7 separate regions of the Homo sapiens genome follow, and all the other regions are linked to region 1. Evidence: promoter capture Hi-C in 16 types of primary human blood cells and fetal thymus (Javierre and others, 2016). All regions are on one chromosome and are shown on one strand. The core of a region is centred on a gene start or on the middle of the fragment in contact, and the rest is flanking DNA. Distances in the headings are between cores, read along the strand shown.

Evidence for each region. The method cuts DNA at HindIII sites, captures the fragments that hold promoters and counts their contacts. A CHiCAGO score of 5 or more calls a contact.
Region 2: a contact is called between a fragment that was not itself captured here and the fragment with the promoter of ACTR3B in region 1, in 1 of 17 cell types (non-activated CD4 T cells). The highest score is 5.3, in non-activated CD4 T cells.
Region 3: a fragment that was not itself captured here is called in contact with the fragment with the promoter of ACTR3B in region 1 in 1 of 17 cell types (naive CD8 T cells); the score reaches 5.2 in naive CD8 T cells.
Region 4: a contact is called between a fragment that was not itself captured here and the fragment with the promoter of ACTR3B in region 1, in 5 of 17 cell types (total CD8 T cells, total CD4 T cells, activated CD4 T cells and 2 more). The highest score is 7.1, in total CD8 T cells.
Region 5: a fragment that was not itself captured here is called in contact with the fragment with the promoter of ACTR3B in region 1 in 1 of 17 cell types (total B cells); the score reaches 6.6 in total B cells.
Region 6: a contact is called between a fragment that was not itself captured here and the fragment with the promoter of ACTR3B in region 1, in 2 of 17 cell types (erythroblasts and megakaryocytes). The highest score is 7.1, in erythroblasts.
Region 7: a fragment that was not itself captured here is called in contact with the fragment with the promoter of ACTR3B in region 1 in 4 of 17 cell types (M2 macrophages, erythroblasts, monocytes and 1 more); the score reaches 6.4 in M2 macrophages.

The regions. Positions count from the first base shown.
Region 1 is chr7:152,758,475-152,761,064 of GRCh38, forward strand. It overlaps ACTR3B (actin related protein 3B), which reads left to right and starts at 1,278. Exons shown (of 12, transcript NM_020445.6): 1 at 1,278-1,452. The coding sequence starts at 1,409. RefSeq lists enhancers at 920-1,079, 2,080-2,129 and silencers at 1,330-1,849, 1,610-1,904. The HindIII fragment of the contact is 7,028 bases long and covers 1-2,357 here.
Region 2 is chr7:151,764,111-151,766,700 of GRCh38, forward strand. All of the region lies in intron 3 of PRKAG2 (protein kinase AMP-activated non-catalytic subunit gamma 2), which reads right to left. Among named protein-coding and RNA genes, the nearest start is that of PRKAG2-AS2, 41 kb to the right of the region's middle. The HindIII fragment of the contact is 5,984 bases long and covers 1-2,590 here.
Region 3 is chr7:151,783,475-151,786,064 of GRCh38, forward strand. All of the region lies in intron 2 of PRKAG2 (protein kinase AMP-activated non-catalytic subunit gamma 2), which reads right to left. Among named protein-coding and RNA genes, the nearest start is that of PRKAG2-AS2, 22 kb to the right of the region's middle. RefSeq lists enhancers at 443-1,332, 1,333-2,222. The HindIII fragment of the contact is 7,939 bases long and covers 1-2,590 here.
Region 4 is chr7:151,881,287-151,883,876 of GRCh38, forward strand. No RefSeq gene overlaps it. Among named protein-coding and RNA genes, the nearest start is that of PRKAG2, 5.5 kb to the left of the region's middle. The HindIII fragment of the contact is 629 bases long and covers 978-1,606 here.
Region 5 is chr7:151,937,511-151,940,100 of GRCh38, forward strand. No RefSeq gene overlaps it. Among named protein-coding and RNA genes, the nearest start is that of GALNTL5, 18 kb to the right of the region's middle. The HindIII fragment of the contact is 254 bases long and covers 1,153-1,406 here.
Region 6 is chr7:152,076,392-152,078,981 of GRCh38, forward strand. The region is part of intron 1 of GALNT11 (polypeptide N-acetylgalactosaminyltransferase 11); the gene reads left to right. Among named protein-coding and RNA genes, the nearest start is that of GALNT11, 52 kb to the left of the region's middle. The HindIII fragment of the contact is 2,385 bases long and covers 94-2,478 here.
Region 7 is chr7:152,093,200-152,095,789 of GRCh38, forward strand. It overlaps GALNT11 (polypeptide N-acetylgalactosaminyltransferase 11), which reads left to right. Exons shown (of 12, transcript NM_022087.4): 2 at 991-1,323. The coding sequence starts at 1,029. Among named protein-coding and RNA genes, the nearest start is that of GALNT11, 69 kb to the left of the region's middle. The HindIII fragment of the contact is 2,482 bases long and covers 51-2,532 here.

The DNA of each region.
Region 1 (2,590 bases), core at 28-2,527:
GAGGCGGAGTTGCAGTGAGCCGAGATTGCGCCACTGCACTCCAGCCTGGGCGACAGAGTGAGACTCATCTCAAAAAACAAAACAAAACAAAAAAATACATGTTTCCAGAAAGCTCCTAAAAAATTAGTATCAAGAATTTACGATCGGGCAAGAAGCAGGAAGCAAGTGGCAAGTGGGACTCTCAGTACCTTTATAATATAGTAGGTGGTGTTTGCCTTCTTTGGTTTCAGTAAGAACTTTTGGGCGATCATCCCATCTTCGACACTTGAAAACATTTTCCAGGAGTGATCTTGGTGTGGTTTACTCAGTCTAAGGCCATTCATTCCTTAAGGCTGGCCAAGCATTTGTTTTGCAGATTTTTCTTCTTAGAAAAATTTAGGCCGTGTTAGGTATAATAATTCCAACTAATTTTTTTTGTTGTTTTTTTGAGACAGACTCTCGCCCTGTTGTCCAGGCTGGAGTGCAATGGCGCGATCTTGGCTCACTGCAACCTCCGCCTCCCAGGTTCAAGCGATTCTCCTGCCTCAGCCTCCGGAGCAGCTGGGATTACAGGCACCCGCCACCACGCCCGGCTAATTTTTGTATTTTCAGTAGAGAAGGGGTTTCACCATGTTGGCCAGGCTGGTCTGGAACTCCTGACCTTGTGATCCACCCTCAGCCTCCCAAAGTGCTGGGATTACAGGCGTGAGCCACCGCGCCCGGCCAATTCCAACTAATTTTTTTTTTTTTTTTTATTATATGGGGAAGGTTACTCAGTCATTCAACAAACATTTGGGCACTTCCACAGGTACACCAAATACTGTGCTAAGCACCTGCTGCTCATCAATAGTGATTAAGACAGACTCAAGCCCTATCCTAGAAGATTTGATAGTCCAGTAGGGGAGGCAGACAACAAATACATAAATATAAAAATATAAACACTTTGCTTTAAGGGTTAGGAATGAAACCAACAGATTGTTGAGACAGAGGATACAGTACCGGTAGGGGACATAGTCAGGGTGATCAGGAACAACTTCCCTCGCAAGGTGACATTCGAGCGAAGACTTACAGGAGGAGAAAGGCGCCAGGCCTCGGAAATGGGGTCACGTTCATGTAAGTCAGTTAAAAATAAACCCCAATCTCTCCAGCAGCAAGGTTGGACGTATGGGGCCAAGAAGCCTCGCTGCCAGCACTAAAGATGGCGCGCCGGAGTGGGGGTGGGGGTGTTGGGGGAGGCGGGGCGTGCGCGCGTTCTGATTGGCCGACCGGGGAGTGACGTCACGTGTCGGCCGCCGAGCATCCGGGCTCCCGGCAGCGGCGCTGCGGCGGCTCGCGGGAGACGCTGCGCGCGGGGCTAGCGGGCGGCGGAGCGGACGGCGACGGGGCGCTCTCGGGCTGCCGGCGGGGCCGAGCGCCGCGCGTCCCGAGCATGGCAGGCTCCCTGCCTCCCTGCGTGGTGGACTGTGGCACCGGGTAAGAGCAGCTCGGCGCCCACCCCCGCTCCTCCGCGGCCCCGCTCCCGGCCCCTGGCGTCCACCTCGCCTGGAGGTCGAGCTGCGTCCGTCGCCCCGGGCTTGAGCCCCGCGATCACCTGGGCAGGTGGGGCGCCGGCCGCCGCTTCCCTCCAAGCCTTGCCTTGACGTCGTAAAACCCCCTCTTCCCTGCCGGGAAGGGCCACAAGAGGAAAAGCACGGAGGGTAGGGACGCGGTGCCCACTCTGAGCGAGCCCGGCGCTCCTCGCCTCCCCCGCCCACGTGGCCGGGCCCCTGGACCCGCAGCCCGGCTCCGGCCGTCGCCGGGGTGGACACCCTGAGGGACACCGGGAGCGCGGGATCTCCCCTCCTAGGAATATTCGCCAGCGTGAGGCACAGATCATCACTGCAGATCCTTTAACGTCACTCATCTCCTAGTGAACGGTGTCCCTGCCTTCCAGCGTTCTCAGCACTGGCCCTCGTTCTGTCCCCGCGTGTGCGTGTCATTCCTCCTGGCTGAGGATTCTTTACCACCTACTTGTGGAGAGAATAGCATCGATCTCCCAACTTGATACCATTTTTACTGCCCTCCCTGCGCTTTTCCAGTATGAAATGGCACACTCAGGCCAAGCTGTCCCTTTGGTTTGCATAGATTTGCCTTTTCGCTGAAAAATGATGTGTTTAAAAAGACTCCATTTTGAAAAATACCCTAAATTTGGGAGAGCATGTTTGTGGAATTGTGGTAGAGGTTTTTGTTTTTAACTTTTTGAGTGTGACCACTTCTTTCGTTGCCGTTAAGCTATTAAAAAGAGATCTTAGGAAATGCCCTGAAGTATCGGTGACCCAAGTTAGCTGGTTGTAGTAAGGTGATTGCTGAATCCATGTAGCTGGTAGTTTGGGAATACAAGCTTGCCTGCCTGCGTTATGGGTGTAGTGCTTAGTAAAATAGCCTGGAAGTAAATTTGGTCTCTTAGCGATTTTTTTCAAGAAGGGATTTTAATCATTTTTGCCACAAAATGTAACATGGCATGTTCACCTTACCCTTGATTCTTTTCTATAGAAAAATGCACTTGGTTTGGTTTCCTTGACAACCTTGTGGGGGTGCCTTCTTTAGTTTGCTACAGTCCATCTCCTACTGT
Region 2 (2,590 bases), core at 37-2,536, 990 kb before region 1:
GAATTGGGGGGTGAGGTTGGCCCTGATCTGGCAAGCAGTTTGAGTTTTCTGAAGTCTCTAGCAAGGGAATGACATAATAAAAGTGGTGATGGAAACATCTGTGCAGCAGCCGCTTTGACAGATCTGCAATCACAGCTCTAATGGCCACAGGGGACACTTCAGGCCACTGCCCTGGGCCAAAGCCAGAGCGCAGCCCAGCCCAGGAGAGTGATGGAGAGACCAGCGCTCCAGAAGGGAGAAAGGCTGTCCAGAGACCCAGAGGTTGGCGCCCTTCCTTGGATGCTTTTTCATTTTGCTATTTGTCCTTTAAGCTAACAAACACTCAACTCCAGCTCTGATTTGCTGACACCTGAGCTGAGGGCCTAGGGACCTGCTACCCCCGCCCAGTACTTTCTGACTGTCCACCCCCAGTGCCAAGAGCTCTCCACCTGTCAGACGACCCAGGGAGAGCGGGGAAGTGCCTAGAGGCATCCCAGGACTGCGATGGCTACACCACGAGTGCTGTCAACTCCTTAGTTCATGAGTCCTACCAGAAGCCCGGAGACCTCATGACCTATTCACACTGTCCTGCCTCCCACCCAACCATGCTCCCAGGAGCAAGTGGGTCAGGGGCAGAGCCAGGAGGTGGGGGCAGTGTCAGGATGGTCAGGGTTTGGTCCCAGGACGTGGGGGCAGGGCCAGCAGGTGGGGGTAAGGCCTCAAGGTTGTAGAGAGACAGGGACTCCTTCCCCATCTGTGAAGCATGGGGAGGCTGCAGTGGGGACTCCAAGGTAACACACCTGCCCTCTGCCTCACTGAAAACAACAGAAGATCATGGCTGAGAGGCCGAGCATCCTGTCTGCTGTGTGGCCATAGCTTTCCTGGACATTTGCTGTGTCTGTTCTCTGGCTGCTGTCTATGGCCAGGGGGGCTTAAGCAATGGGATTTATCCCTTCACAGTTCTGGAGGCTGGGAGCCTAAGTCAAGGTGTGTGTGAGCCCGCAGTCCATCTGTATTAGTCCGTTCTCACACTGCTAGAAGGAACTACCTGAAACTGGGTAACTTATGCAGAAAAAAAGTTTAATTGACTCACAGTTCTGTAGGCTCTACAGGAAGCATGGCTGGGGAGGCCTCAGGAAACTTACAATCATGGCAGAAGGTGAAGAGGAAGCAGGCACGTCTTACATGGCATCAGGAAGGAAAGAGTGAAGGGGAAGTGCTACACACTTTTCAACAACCAGATCTCGTGAGAACTCATTCACTATCGCCAGAATAGCAATGGGAAGTCTGCCCCTACGATTCAATCACCTCCCACCAGGCCCCTCCTCCAACATGTGGGGATTACAATTCAACAGGAGATTCGGGTGGTAACAAGAAGCCAAACCATATCACCATCTGAAACCTGGGGGAGCCCTTTCTGCCCTGCAGCTTCAGGGATCACAGGCACCAGGGCATCCCCGTCTCAGCTCCACCAGCTCCCTGGGTCTCCGTCATCACTGGGCCTTCTTTTAAGGACACCAGTCATTCTGGACTGAGGGCCCACATGAATGACCTCATCTTAAATAATTACACCTGCCATGACCCTATTTCCAAGTCAGGTCACATTCTGAGGTCCTGGGGGTCAGGACTTCCACAAACCATTTTTGCCGGGAACATCATACAACCCTTAACAGTTACTATAGGATTAAATGAAATCCTACAGTGTATTTTAAAACTCTATCTAATTGCACCTGAAATAAATTCTTCATCTTGTCTAATTCCCCAATTAGCCCTGGCCTGATAACTTGATTTTCATTCCTGTGTGACCCCTGGCACTCCTGACCCACTAACCTGATGCTGATGATGGCATCATGTGTCTGGATTGGGGACCTTCCTAACGTTGACAGGTGATTCATCTGATAATGGTTTTGAGTGGCTATTGTGTGCAGATCCTACTCAGGTATTATAGTATCTCCAGGAACTGTAATAAACAGCAATTTCAGACTCAATTCATCTCCTTTATCTGTGACACTGTGTGAATGGGAACACAATGGACCAAAAGAACACTCAGCCCATGCCAAAATCTCCCAAAGGACACAGAGGTGTCACTGTAACTTCTCACATATGCGCTGCACGAGGACTCGGCTGGGCTGCAGATCTGAAACCTTTGTTCTTCCAACTTCACTTACAGCAGTAAAGCCCATTTATCAAAATCTATTTCCTTTAAATGATGGTAGGAACGGGGAAGAAGTGAGGTGGGGGAGAAACTTACAGGAAGAGTCTTGTCAAAAGGAGACATTTTGGAGTCAACAATGGTAGGTGGGAGGTTGGTGGGAAGTGAAGCTCAAACACAGTTCACTCAACAACCTGTACTCAGTAACAACAGACATGTTCATCTCACTAAAAAGGAGAAAACCAAAGGCGAGGCGCCCAGATCGTGGATAAGTCCCAGGAGAGAGTAAAAGCAGAGTGCTGAGACCAGCTATCACCCTGATTTGGAACACTGGCTCAGGCCACTTTAGAAAGGGGGACTGGGGATGACCTATGCCCAGGCACTAGTGTGTTTCAAGAAAAAGGTGTCAGAGGACTGCAAGTTCACAGACACCTGAAGACAGTGGGGTCTGCTACTGTG
Region 3 (2,590 bases), core at 41-2,540, 970 kb before region 1:
GGATTACAGTTGTCCATGCCCAGCTGATTTTTTTTTTTTGACCATTTAATATGAAAAGCATTTAGATTCTCTGTTTATAGAATATCCCAGTTAGCCACTATTCCACCTAACTATGGGAATCAGGACAAATCCTGAGAATAAATTTACAAACAAGAGAGTCTTCAGGCAGGGGGTGGTGTCTCACACCTGTAATCCCAGCACTTTGGGAGGCCGAGGTGGGTGGATCACCTGAGCTCGACCAGCCTGGGCAACATGGCAAAACCCTGTCTCTACAAAAAATACAGAAATTAGCCAGGTGTGGTGGCCTGTAGTCCCAGCTACTCAAGCAGCTGAGGTGGGAGGATCACTTGAGCCCCAGAGATGGAGGTGGAGGTTGCAGTGAGCAAGGTGACACTACTGTACTCCAGCCAGCTTGGGTACAGAGCAAGACCCTGTCTCAAAAAAAAAAAAAAAAAAAAAAAAAAAGAGGTTCTTCTTCAAGTGGTGGGTGCTGTGTGTGCAGGTCTAGGGTGGGATGGGGGCTGAGAGAAGCCAGTAGGAACAACACACACAGGCACCAGGGTGGTCCTATCACAAGGTGACATAAGCTGGTCCTGGGTGGAGGCCCGGGTTTGGTCACAGCTCAGTTTCCCGCAATGTGGACAACGACTTGGTTGTCCAAGCCTCGTTCCCAGGGCTGAGACAATCACGACAGCAGCCTCGAGGGTGTGAACCGGAAGAGGAGCCGAGGCCACATGGGAGGACCGGAGGGAGGGGTGGGATTTTGGAGCTGCTGGAAAGGTGAGCCCGGACCTGGTGCATGGACGTGCTCTGTTTACAGCATAGGGAGCTTGCTGGGGAGCCGGGGGAGAGGGCCGAGCCAATGCAAATGTCCAGTCCTACAGGGAAACAGAGACACATAGGGGAGCGGGGCCCCAGGAGAGCTTGCAGAGTGCCCACAAGGCCGAAGCACCATAAGCACCATGCAGATGGATAAATGGCCCGGAGCTGAAACCTGCCCCTTAACAGAGGCCCTGACCCAGAGGAGGCCCTGACAGCTGGCTAGGCTTCAGAGACGCAGTGACAGGGCCGGGGAGGTGTCCAGTGCCCAGAGACAGAGGAGAAGGGGTTTGAAGCACAGAGACAGAGGGCCGGCCATTCACTTGGGCCACCATGAGGGTGGGGGTCACGGGGGAAGTTGAGCCATGAGCCCCTGGAGAACCAGTCATGAAAGGCCAGTTTAACCATATTTGATGAGCAAGGGGGACCCCAGGATTATCCTGAATGGGGTTCCATTCTGTATTCTGAATCCAGGCCAGTGGAGTCGGGCATCCAGGGATCAGGCCTGAGGAGGGAGCCCTAGGAAGCAGCCCTGCCAGTCCTGTCTCTGGAAAATGGCCGAAGCATGCTGGATGCTGGGCCCTGTCTGACCCCTCTCACCGGGAACCTTGGGGGCCAGATCACACTCCCAGACGGTGGGAAAGCCAGGCGGAGGGACAGGCCTGCTGGGGTGGGCTGCGTGGCGGTGCAGATAACAGGCGCCAGCTGAAGCCACCAGGGACAGGGCCTCAGGCCTTGCTCTTGGGCAAGCTATAGCCAAATGATATGTTGGTGAATGCAACCGGATGATTCCCCGGGTATTGACAAGACTCCCAAGTGTGTGCCTGGCTCCGCAGAGCTAATGGAGAGCAGGCATTCAGCCGTCTGCGGAGCAGAGCTCTGCCTATGGGGCCATTTGTCATGCAGCTGCCAGAGAGGAAGCTGGGGCCAGGGCCTGGCTGTGGCCCCTGTGTCTCTCCCACACTCTCAGATCTTCCGTGCAAGGTTTTCACTGGAAAGAAGGGTTTTGCAGAGTCAAACAGGAGGAAGACGACCCAGTGCCCGCGGGGCTGGTCCCACAGCCTTGCACGGGGTTGGTGGCCCCTTCCTGCCACTCCACTCTCTGCTGGCCCAGAAGCTCAAGGCCATTCCCTGGCAGTCTTTGCTGGATGGGCCACGAGAGCTGCTAATAAGGTTGCTTGTTCAGGGCAGGGTGGGGAGGGCACTGGCACCAGTGGAGCCCCACAGGCCGACACCAATTTGATTCAGTTGTGTGTAATTCAAATGCTTAAAGAGGAGATTTGCTTTTTCCAGCATGGGAACTCCTGCCTTCATCCCAGGCTAGCCGGCACCCAGAACCCATCCCAGACCCTGTACGTAGCCCCCAGATCACTAGCTCTGTCTGCTGTCACCTGCCGGAGGGGTCTGTGGGTGGCAGAATGCCAGGAAGCACGTCCCCTACCAGGCCTCCACCCACCCTTACTTCCTGGCTGCAGGAGAAACCTGCAAGCAGCCTGGACCTCTGCGCCCTGCCACGGCCACCTCGACCCTCACCTGATGCTGTGGCTCCCTCTCCAGAGCCCCCCACCCCACCCCACACTCTTTCTGGCCACCTGACCCTACACAGTCAACAACCTCCTCGAGACACTAGTTTCCTAATGGGAGGGAAATTCACCAGTGCAGGAGGGACGGCGAGGAGCTAAAGAGAGGAAAGGAAAAGTGGAAAGAGAGAAAAAGGCGTGTGGAGAGGGTGCAACACGAGGTGGAAGGAGAGAGCCCAGCGCTGGGGGTG
Region 4 (2,590 bases), core at 42-2,541, 880 kb before region 1:
CCTTAGACTGGGTAATTTATAAAGGAAAGAGGTTTAATTGACTCACAGTTCCACATGGCTGGGGAGGCCTCACAATCATGGTGAAAAGCAAGGAGAAGGAAAGACACGTCTTACATGACAGCAGGAAAGAGAGAGTGTGCAGGGGAACTCCCATTTATAAAACCATCAGATCTCGTGAGACTTATTCACTATCACGAGAACAGCATGGGAAAGACCCACCCCCATGATTCCTCCCACAACACATGGGAATTATGGGAGCTACAATTCAAGATGAGATTTGGGTGGGGACACAGCCAAACCCTATCACTGAGGCTGCTTCCCGTTGGGGGCATCATTGGCCCAGGCTGGTGAGCATGAGGGTTAAAAACATGCAGCTTCTATTATGTGACAGTGCCAAGGGCTCATACACATGTTAGCACATTGAATGGGGGAGCAGATATGATTGGCACATTTTATACCACACATGTGTTTGTGTCGTTGCTGTCCCACTATATTAGTATCCTAGACCAACATCACCTGCAAATACTTGGGGTACCCATTTCTGAATGCTGTCAGCTCTCAGGGATCCTGGTCAACACACTGGCCTGCCAGGGTGAGCCACCTCTTCCCCAGCCAGGCAACATTTCATTCAGAGGTGATAATTTAAAATGCTGCACCCAGGTCCAGGGCCTACAACCCGCTGAGAAGTGAAATACCCACAGTAGGAGAGTTAACGTAAAGGAAATCCTTGATCAGAGCTTATGAAGGGGACACTGGCTATTTAATTTCACTTAATCTGGTTTTCCAAACTTACGTGTTCCCTTACGCCCACCCATGCTTTTTTTTTTTTTTAATTTGGCCTGTTATTCCATATAAATAAAAATGACTTTGAAAACCATGAGTCATCTTTATATAGTATAGACAGTCTTAGAATTGGGGGTGTCCTCATGGGTTTGAAGTCCAAGCTTACTCTGGGTGCTTAGAATGTAGCAGTTAGAAGCTTCCTCTGTAATCAGGAGATGGATGTCTGTGTCTGATGAGTTCCCAACCTCAGTGACAGTGGATTCCACATTGCAAAGAAGAAAGGAACTTTTTGATCACTAATAACATGCCAGGCACCATGTTAGGTACTTCATATTAACTATCTCACCCTAATTTCCACTAAAATCCCTGAAGAGAACGATCACATCCACTTTACAGATGAAGGGAACAGAAACCTAGTTGCTGGAATCCGCTGGCATTCATTTCACTTCTGCCCGTGAGTATTAATTGGCTGTGCCCTCTAGGAAAACATAAAATATGTGGCCCCTCTGCTTTTAAGAACTTTGCTGAAGACTCTTTAGGAAATGCCTTTGGGATAACCTTGGACCGTCTAAGAGAGACCAACTAAGAACATCTTAGCTGCCTTGGTCTATTTGCCTGTGACACAAATGGAGAGAGCAATGGTCTGTATATGCAGGAAGACAACAACAGCTCAATTTTACAACTCTTAGAAAAACTAAACAGCAAGTTCTGGGCTCAGGACTCTGTAAATGCTTTGATAACTTATTGAATACCAAGCTAAGGGGGTGTTATCTAATTGTGAAAAACAGGGCAAATAGTCACATTCCAGTTTTTATTTCCTTTAAGCTTGGGCAATGGTTGTGTAACCTTGTGATGGCTTTTGCTCCCTGGTACAAATGGAGTCATTAGTATCAATCCACGCAGAGAAGTGGAGGCAGGGGCCCAGGACCAGCAGGAACACTGCTTTGGGACAACACATCTCCTGACTGCCTGACTGCCCCTTTCTGGGTCCATTTTATTTTCCCGGGCACCTGTGCCAGCCACCTCCTTGGTCAGTGCTCCAGGTAGCTCTTCATCCATGATGCCAGTCAACCATAAGGAAGTCCTCATCGTGAAATCCAAGAAGTACTTTGGATTAAGGTAAAGGTGAACCCTGTAGCAATGTTCTCCCAAACGACAGATTTGCTGTGCATATCTTCTCTCTAGAGAATAGCTTCGTGTCTTGGCCAGCTCTGTACCTAAGCACACACTCAGCAGTTCTACAGAATGACAGATTCACCAAACAGGGCATGTGTATCCACAAGCGCTGTGCAGTGAGGAGGTGTCTGTTTGCTAAATAATAGAATAGGGAATCCCCAGCAATGATGCCCCCTTCCTGACTAAGGGTAGCCGTCATGTAAACAGCATTAGTTGGGAATAAAGTCTTTGGTTCTGCTAACAGCTGCCTTTATAATTGTTTTGCAGAGTGTCCCATGTGACTTTTATCCTAGTGATCCGGCATTACCTCCCACTGGGGTGGAAGATTTGGTCTCCCTGGGCTGCAGAATTTGACTAAAGGTCTGTGTGTGTTGGTTCTTGACTTAGTTATGAGCTCTCAACATGCAATAAACATCCTGATTAACCTTGGGAAATCTGAATACTACTATTACCTGAATATGGCTCTTGACTGGTTTCTGACCTCTCACCCATCTATGGGCACATGATTAAGTAATGCAAATTAATTGTAATAATTTCCCAAGCAAATAAAATTATTTTGGTAATGATATTGGCCTCAAAGTTCGTACATTGCAATGCAAATCTGACTGTTCACTTACATGAGAGGGTCTGT
Region 5 (2,590 bases), core at 30-2,529, 820 kb before region 1:
ATGATTTTTAGTACATCAGAATGAAAAATTTCTGGTCAACTAGTGGCCCACTGACAAAGTTAATTCAGGCTTTTATTCAACATGCTTGGCTTTATGGCACTTCCCAGATGTTGCATTTCTTACAAATAGAAGGTTTGTGGCAGCCCTGCTTTGAGCAAGTCTGTTGGTGTCATTTTTCCAACAGCACATGCTCAGTTTATGTCTCTGTGTCATATTTTGGTAATTCTTGCAGTATCTAAAACTTTTTCATTATTATATCATTGTGATGATCTGTGATCAGTGGTCTTTGATGTTACTACTGTAGTTGTTTTGGGGGTCCCATATAAGACAGTGAACTTAATTGATAAATGTTGTATGTGTTCTAATTGGTCCACCAGCTGGCCATTCCTCTGTCTGTCTCCCTCATCTTGTGCATCCCTGTTCCCTGGGGATTGAAATTAGGACAATTAATAACCCTGCAATGGCCTCTAAGTGTTCAAGTGAAAAGGAGAGTCACAGGCCTCTGACTTTAAATCAAAAGGTAGAAGTAATTAAGCTAAGTGAGGAAGGCATGTCGAAAGCTGAGATAGGCCCCAAGCTAGGCATCTTGTGCCAAACAGTTAACCAAATTGTGAGTGCAAAGAAAATGTTCTTGGCCAGGCACGGTGGCTCACGCCTGTAATCCCAGCATTTTGGGAGGCTGAGGCGGGCGGCTTACTTGAGGTCAGGAGTTCAAGACCAGCCTGGCCAACATGATGAAACCCCATCTCTACTAAAAATACAAAAATTAGCCGGGCGTGGTGGTGTGCATGGTGTGCACCTGTAATCCCAGCTACTTGGGAGGCTGAGGCAGAAGAATCACTTGAACCTGGCAGGTGGAGGCCGCAGTGAACTAAGATCATGCCACTGCACTACAGCCTGGGTAACAGAGCAAGACTCCATCTCAAAAAAAAAGTACTTAAAGGAAATTAAAACTGCTACTCCAGGGAACACACAAATGATAAGAAAGTGAGACTGCCTTATTGCTGATACAGAGAAAGTTTGAGTGGTCTGGATAGAAGATCAAAGCAGCCACAGCATTCTCTTAGGCCAAAGCCGAATCCAGAGAAAGGTCCTAACTCTCTTCCACTCTGAAGGCTGAGAGAGGTGAGGAAGCTGCAGAAGGAAGTTTGAAGCTTTTGAACCTCATTGGTTCATGAGATTTAAAGAGCGAAGCCAGCTCCATAAAAAAGTGTAAGATGAAGCAACAAGTGTTGATGGAGAAGCTGCAACAAGTTTTCCAGAAGATCTAGTTAATTAAGATCATTGATGAAGACAGGAGCACTAAACAACAAATTTTCAATGTAGACTAAACAGTCTTCTATTGGAAGAAGATGCCATCTAAGACTTTTCATAGCTAGAGAGAAGACATCAATGTCTGGCTTCAAAGCTTCAAAGGATAGGCTGACTCTCTTGCTAGGGGCTGATGCAGCTGGTGTCTTTAAGCTGAAGCCAGTGCTCACTTGCCATTCTGAAAATCTTAGCGTCCTTAAGAATTATGCTGAATCTATTCTGCCTGTGCTCTAGAAATGGAACAACAAAGCCTGAATGACTACACAACTGCTTACAGCATGGTTTACTGAATATTTTAAGCCCGCCGTTGAGACCTACTGCTCAGAAGAAAAGATTCCTTTCAAAATATTACTGCTCATTGACAATGCACTTGGTCACCTATAAGCTCTGAGGGAGATGTGCTAGGAGATAAATGTCGTGTCCCTGCCTGCTAACACGATCACCATTCTCTGCCCATGGATCAAGGACTAATTTCTACTTTCAAGTCTTATTATTTAAGAAATAGATTTAATAAGGCTATAACTGCCATAGATAGTGATTCCTCTGATGGATCTGGGCAAGGAAAATTGAAAACGTCTGGAAAGGATTCACCATTCTAAATGCCATTAGAAACATTCGTGATTCATGGGAGGAGATCAAAATAATAACATTAAGAGGAGTTTGGAAGAAGTTGATTCCAGTCTTCATGGATGACCTTGAGGGGTTGAAGACTTTAGTGGAGGAAGTCACTGCAGATGTGGTGGAAATGCAAGAGAAATAGAAGATGGGACTGAACTGCAATTTCATGATCAAACTTGAAAGGATGAGGAGTTGCTTCTTTTGGATGAGCAAAGAACGTGGTTTCTTGACATGGAAACTACTCTTGATGAAGAAGCTATGAACACTGTTAAAACGACAACAAAGCATTTAGAATATTACATAAGCTTAGCTGACAAAGCAGTGGCAAGGTCTGAAAGGACTGACTCCAATTTTCAAAGAAGTTCTACTCTGGGTAAAATTCTATCAAACAGCATCACATGCTACAGAAAAATCTTTTTGTGAAAGGAAGAGTCAGGGGAAGGGCAGGGGTAGAAAAAAATTAAAAAAGAAGAGTCGATGGATACAGCAAACTTCATTACTGTCTTATTTTAAGAAATTCCACAGCCACCCCAACCTTCAGGAACCACCACCCTGATCAGTCAGCAGCCACCAACATCGAGGCAAAACCCTCCACCAAAGGAAGATTACAACTCCATGAAGGCTCAGATAATTGTTACCATTGTTTAGCAATAAAGTATTT
Region 6 (2,590 bases), core at 36-2,535, 680 kb before region 1:
AGGACACACCAGTAGGGGAATGAAGTGCGCCGTCTAGGAAAGACAGCCAATAAAGGGCATGTTTTCAAGCCAGGTCCCGCTGTGGACAAATGAAGCTTGATTGTGCTGAGGAATTCTAGAGCCAGTGTAGCATACGTATGTCAGAGTTGTGATTTTTCCACTGGGGGTTTGGAGGGAGGCTGGATTTAAGGAAGCTGGAGTCTTCTTATCAGTATATTGTGAGGACTGCCCTCAGGTAGGTACACATTCCCCTGTAGTTTGGGCCTGCCCTGCACGTGGGCAGATGGGCTTCAGAAGCCAGAGATACAGGTACTGGCAGTTGGAATTCAGAACACTGTGCGGGATAGTAATGCTCAAGGGGACCTGCAAACAACAGTAACTGCGATGTTTATTTACTGGGCTTGGTTAACAGCATGAGCTAGGATCTGGTGATTTGCCAGATTGATTAAGTCTGTCAGCTTTCTAAACCTGTTGAGGTGGTAGATTCTCAGAAATTAATTTTCTATACAGTTCACGATGTATGGAGGAAAAAAGTTTTCTGAAAAAGGCCCATAGCTGGGCATGGTGGCTCATGCCTATAATCCCAATACTTTGGGTGGATGAGGTGAGGATCGCTTGAGCCCAGGAGTTGGAGGCTACAGTAATCTATGATCATAACCACCACACCCCAGCCTGGGTGACAGTGAGACCTTGTCTCAAAAAAAAGGCCCAAGATTCTGTCACAGTTTGATTTGCTGATGTTCTTTTTGGCAGTACCTAGCCTGCACTCTTTGAAATGCCAAAACAACTGTTTAGAAAATAGCCCTGGCCTTGTGCTTCCGATAATGGCCTGAGTAACCTAGTTAAAGCCAGCTGATACTTTTCTGAAAAGCATCAAGGAATTTACAACATAGTAAAGAATTACTGGGTTAAGATTTGGGAGATGATAGAAAACCAGAGACGTGAGCCTCTGACCCAGGGCCGCTTTTGCCCGGCTATTTGCTGTTCTGGAAGAGCAGGTGAGAGGCTGAGCAGTGTAGTTAACTGACTCACAGGAGGACAGAAACAAAAACTGGAGTCTAGAACTTGCTGTGGGTAAGAATCCTGGTGAGCCACCTGGGGTTAATGTTGAAACCTTGAGAGGCTGCCATCCAGAACACTCATGGGCTGGGAGTGTGCCAGCCTTTGCCTGGACTGAAGCTCCATGGGGTCACCTGGGGGTTTAGTAAATCTCAAATGGTGAAATGGATTAGGGTGATCTCAAATTGCTGGTGACCCCAGTCACCTAACAGAGACAGATGAAAATCCTCTCCAGAGGAAGATAACATCTCACGCCTCAAATTATTTCTGAAATGATTTTTCAAATAGTGTCCACCATACCACCAAGTCAGTGTAACCAGGCCCACTGGGAGACTACCTTAACAAGAACCCGCACAGATAACAGAGGATAGAAACAGGCTTTGCAGACAGTGGAATTACCAGACAGACGCTAAAGCATATGTTTATTATGTTCATGGAGATAAAAGTTGAATAAAAACATTTCAACAAGGAACTGGAAACTTAATATAAGGGGGCAAAGCAGACCTGAAAAACAACTAAATACTAGATCTAAAAAATACAGTAGCCAAAATGGAGGATTCAGTGGATTCAGCAGATTAGATACTGCTGAAGAGAAAAGTGAGCCCCCGAGAGATCAGAAGAAACCTCTCTGAATGAAGCGTGAGGGGGGAAGGCTGGACAACACTGAAGAAGCTGTAAGAAATATACTCCATCCTGAGAAAGTCTGACATACGTGATTTGAATCCTAGAAGGAGAAGAGGGAGGGGGGTAGAAGGAATATTTGTTTTTGTGTTTGTTTTTTTTAGACAGAGTTTCACTCTTGTTGCGCAGGCTGGAGTGCAATGGTACAGTATCGGCTTACCCCAAATCCAAGTGATTCTTCTGCCTCAGCCTCCTGAGTATCTGGGATTACAGGCGTATGCCACCATGCCCAGCAAATTTTGTATTTTTAATAGAGACAGGGTTTCTCCATGTTGGTCAGGCTGGTCTTGAACCCCCGACCTCAGATGATCCACCCGCCTCGGCCTCCCAAAGTGCTGGGATGATAGGCATGAGCCACTGCGCCCGGCCGGAAGGAATATTTGAATAAATAATGGCAAAGATTTTTGAAACCCCATGAAAGATGACAATCCACAGAATTAAGAGATTCTTAATATAGCATAAGGTGATTCTTAAAGTTTTCCACTTCTAAGTAATATGCAAATTCATTTTCCTTAGATTGAGCTTCCTTCCCCTCCTCCTTTCTAATTTTAGCAGTGGTTTTCAGAATTCTGCTGAGAGTAAGTGTTTTTCTAACAAGTGATGAATTACATGTTTTTTTTAATCACATTTACAAAATAATTTATGTGCTAGAGTTCCAAAAATTTTGATTGGACAAAAAGGATGCAACTTCTGTTTTGATTGAAGACTGAGAGATAAGAACATCTTAAATAAAAGGCAAGCTTTCCAGACCCAAAGGATTAGTTTATAATGCAGGAATTTCAGCATAATGGGCAGTCAGGGGGCAGAGCCCCTCACTGGCACCACTCAGCCATGGTTTATAGGTAGCTCC
Region 7 (2,590 bases), core at 42-2,541, 670 kb before region 1:
GCCTGGGTGACAGAGTGAGACTCTGTCTTAAAAAGGAAAAAAAAAAAAAAAGCTTAGGAAAAATTGCTGTTCAGTGCTACATTTAGTTCTTCTTGCCTTGTTTTATAGGTGAGGGAATATAATTACTTGAACTCTTTATTTGAAAATAACTTAGATTTAGAGTGCACACTAGGGCAGGCATAACCTTTGATTGGAAAGTAGAATTTTTTTTAAGTTGTTTATATTTATTTATTTTTATTGTTTTGAGACAGAGTCTTGCTCGGTTGCCCAGGCCAGAGTACAGTGGTGCAATCTTGGCTCACCACAACCTCCGCCTCCCGGGTTCAAGAGGTTCTGCAGCCTCAGCCTCCCAAGTAGCTGGGATTATTATAGGCGCCCACCACAACCCTCAGCTAATTTTTGTATTTTTGATAGACACAAGGTTTCACCAGGTTGGCCAGGCTGGTCTCGAACTTCTGACCTCAAATGATCCGCCCACCTCAGCCTCCCAAAGTGCTGGGATTACAATCATGAGCCACCACACCTGGCCAGAGTTGCTTAGAGTTGCTTATTTTTAATAATAGATTTTTAAGATCCTTGGATTAAAAAAAGAATCTTGCAGTTCTTTGGTTGGAAGAGACTTTAGTTGTCCTGTTATGATACATGTGGTACTTGTTATTTTCCTTGTGAAAATTATAACCTGATGAGAAAAATTACGCAACTGAAAGCAGTCCAGAACAAAGGTGAAGAAGTATCCATTAACATGGGCAAATGAATCAGTCAGCTATTTCACTGCCGTTGGTTCTCTGAGCATTAACCCACAGGCCTGAGGTTTTCATTGTTGAACCCTTTTTAAAAACTCAGTACTATCCATACATCTTCTTGTATTTGAATATCCGTTAACTGTACGCATAGTGGTCCTACTTGGTGGTTTGGAAAACAGTGATTCTGTATTTGGTGGATGGTTTAAAGTATACTGAAGTGTCTAACATATTTATTCTTCTTTTTTAGGAAATTGACAATGGCCCTTCAGCTATGCTAGGTCTATAATGGGAAGTGTCACAGTTCGGTATTTCTGTTATGGGTGCCTTTTTACATCTGCGACCTGGACAGTTTTGCTTTTTGTTTATTTCAACTTCAGTGAAGTGACTCAGCCACTTAAGAATGTGCCCGTCAAGGGGTCTGGGCCCCACGGACCATCTCCAAAAAAATTCTATCCCCGTTTCACTCGAGGCCCAAGTCGAGTGCTCGAGCCACAGTTCAAAGCAAACAAAATTGACGATGTGATAGACAGTCGTGTTGAAGATCCAGAAGAAGGCCACTTGAAATTCTCTTCTGAATTAGGTAAGTATATGATGTTTACCAGCATCCATATCAATGTATTTAATCACTGGAAGTTTGATTAATTAGTTAATTAGGAGATCAGAAATGCTGCATCATTTTTTCCCCACTGATTTATTTTGTTTGTGAACTACCTGAAGTTCTGTGGTTTCTGCAGACTCAGTGGGGAGTTATATTCTAATTTATCCAGTTCTGACTTCAGTATCTTATGAGAAAACAAACAAGGTCCAGGGAAGAAAAATTAAAAGGCTAGAAAGAAAATGGAACCTATGGGAGAAGGGGTTTGTTTTTTGTTTGTTTTTTTAAGAGATGGGGTCTCACCATATTGCCCAGGCTGTCCCCGAATTCTTGGGCTCAAGCTGCCCTCCCACCTCAACCTTGAGAGTAGCTGGGACTATAGGCATGCACCACTGTGCCCAGCCCTGGAAGAAGGTTTTAATTGCTAGAATTGTTAATAAGGGAAAGAAATGGTTGAAAGTTTCCTTGACTGTATTTAACTTATTTTTAAGGGTACATTTAATTAATACAGAACATAAAGTACTGAGTTTAAAAATAAGCTGGGGTTATTTATATCTAATATGATTTTCACTTAACAAGAATTACTAAGGTGCTAGAAAAAATATATGTATATATAATATAGTTTATGAAATCTTAGTTATAAAATAGCCCTTTTTTCCTCCTAAAAAATTATATTCTCTTCAACTTGGATGCAAGACTCTATTGTCTATGCCTTTGAATACTGCAATTTTAGAGTGTTGATTTTGACATTTTATTTTAAGGGATAAGTGAGCAATTTTTGTTATCATTAAAACTTAAAGAACTTGGATCTTGTCACAAAAACATCAAATAATAGGTAATTTAAGAGTAAAATACAAGAGATTTTTGAGAGATTGAGAGAGCCTTAGAATGTGAAAGAAATGTTAAAATAGAGTTTTCACTTGGTCATAGTTTCAAAGAAATAAAATCAGTTCTTAGGACTTAATGATTTTCTAATATAGGAAGTCAAAAGTATGTAAAATTTTATGAGGAAACAAGCTAATATCTACTTCAGTTTTCATTTAAAAATATTTTTAAATAGAGACGTGATCTCACCAACTTCAATTTTCATAAAGTACAATTTTCATAAATCTTTTTCAAATAGCCAGTGGACATTTTTAAAGCATTAATGGGAAAATGTCTAGCTCTTTTATTTATTTATAGTTACATTGGTAAAGCTTTTATCAAGAAGTAATACTGAGTTTACCATTTTGAATAGACTCTGTATTTGCTT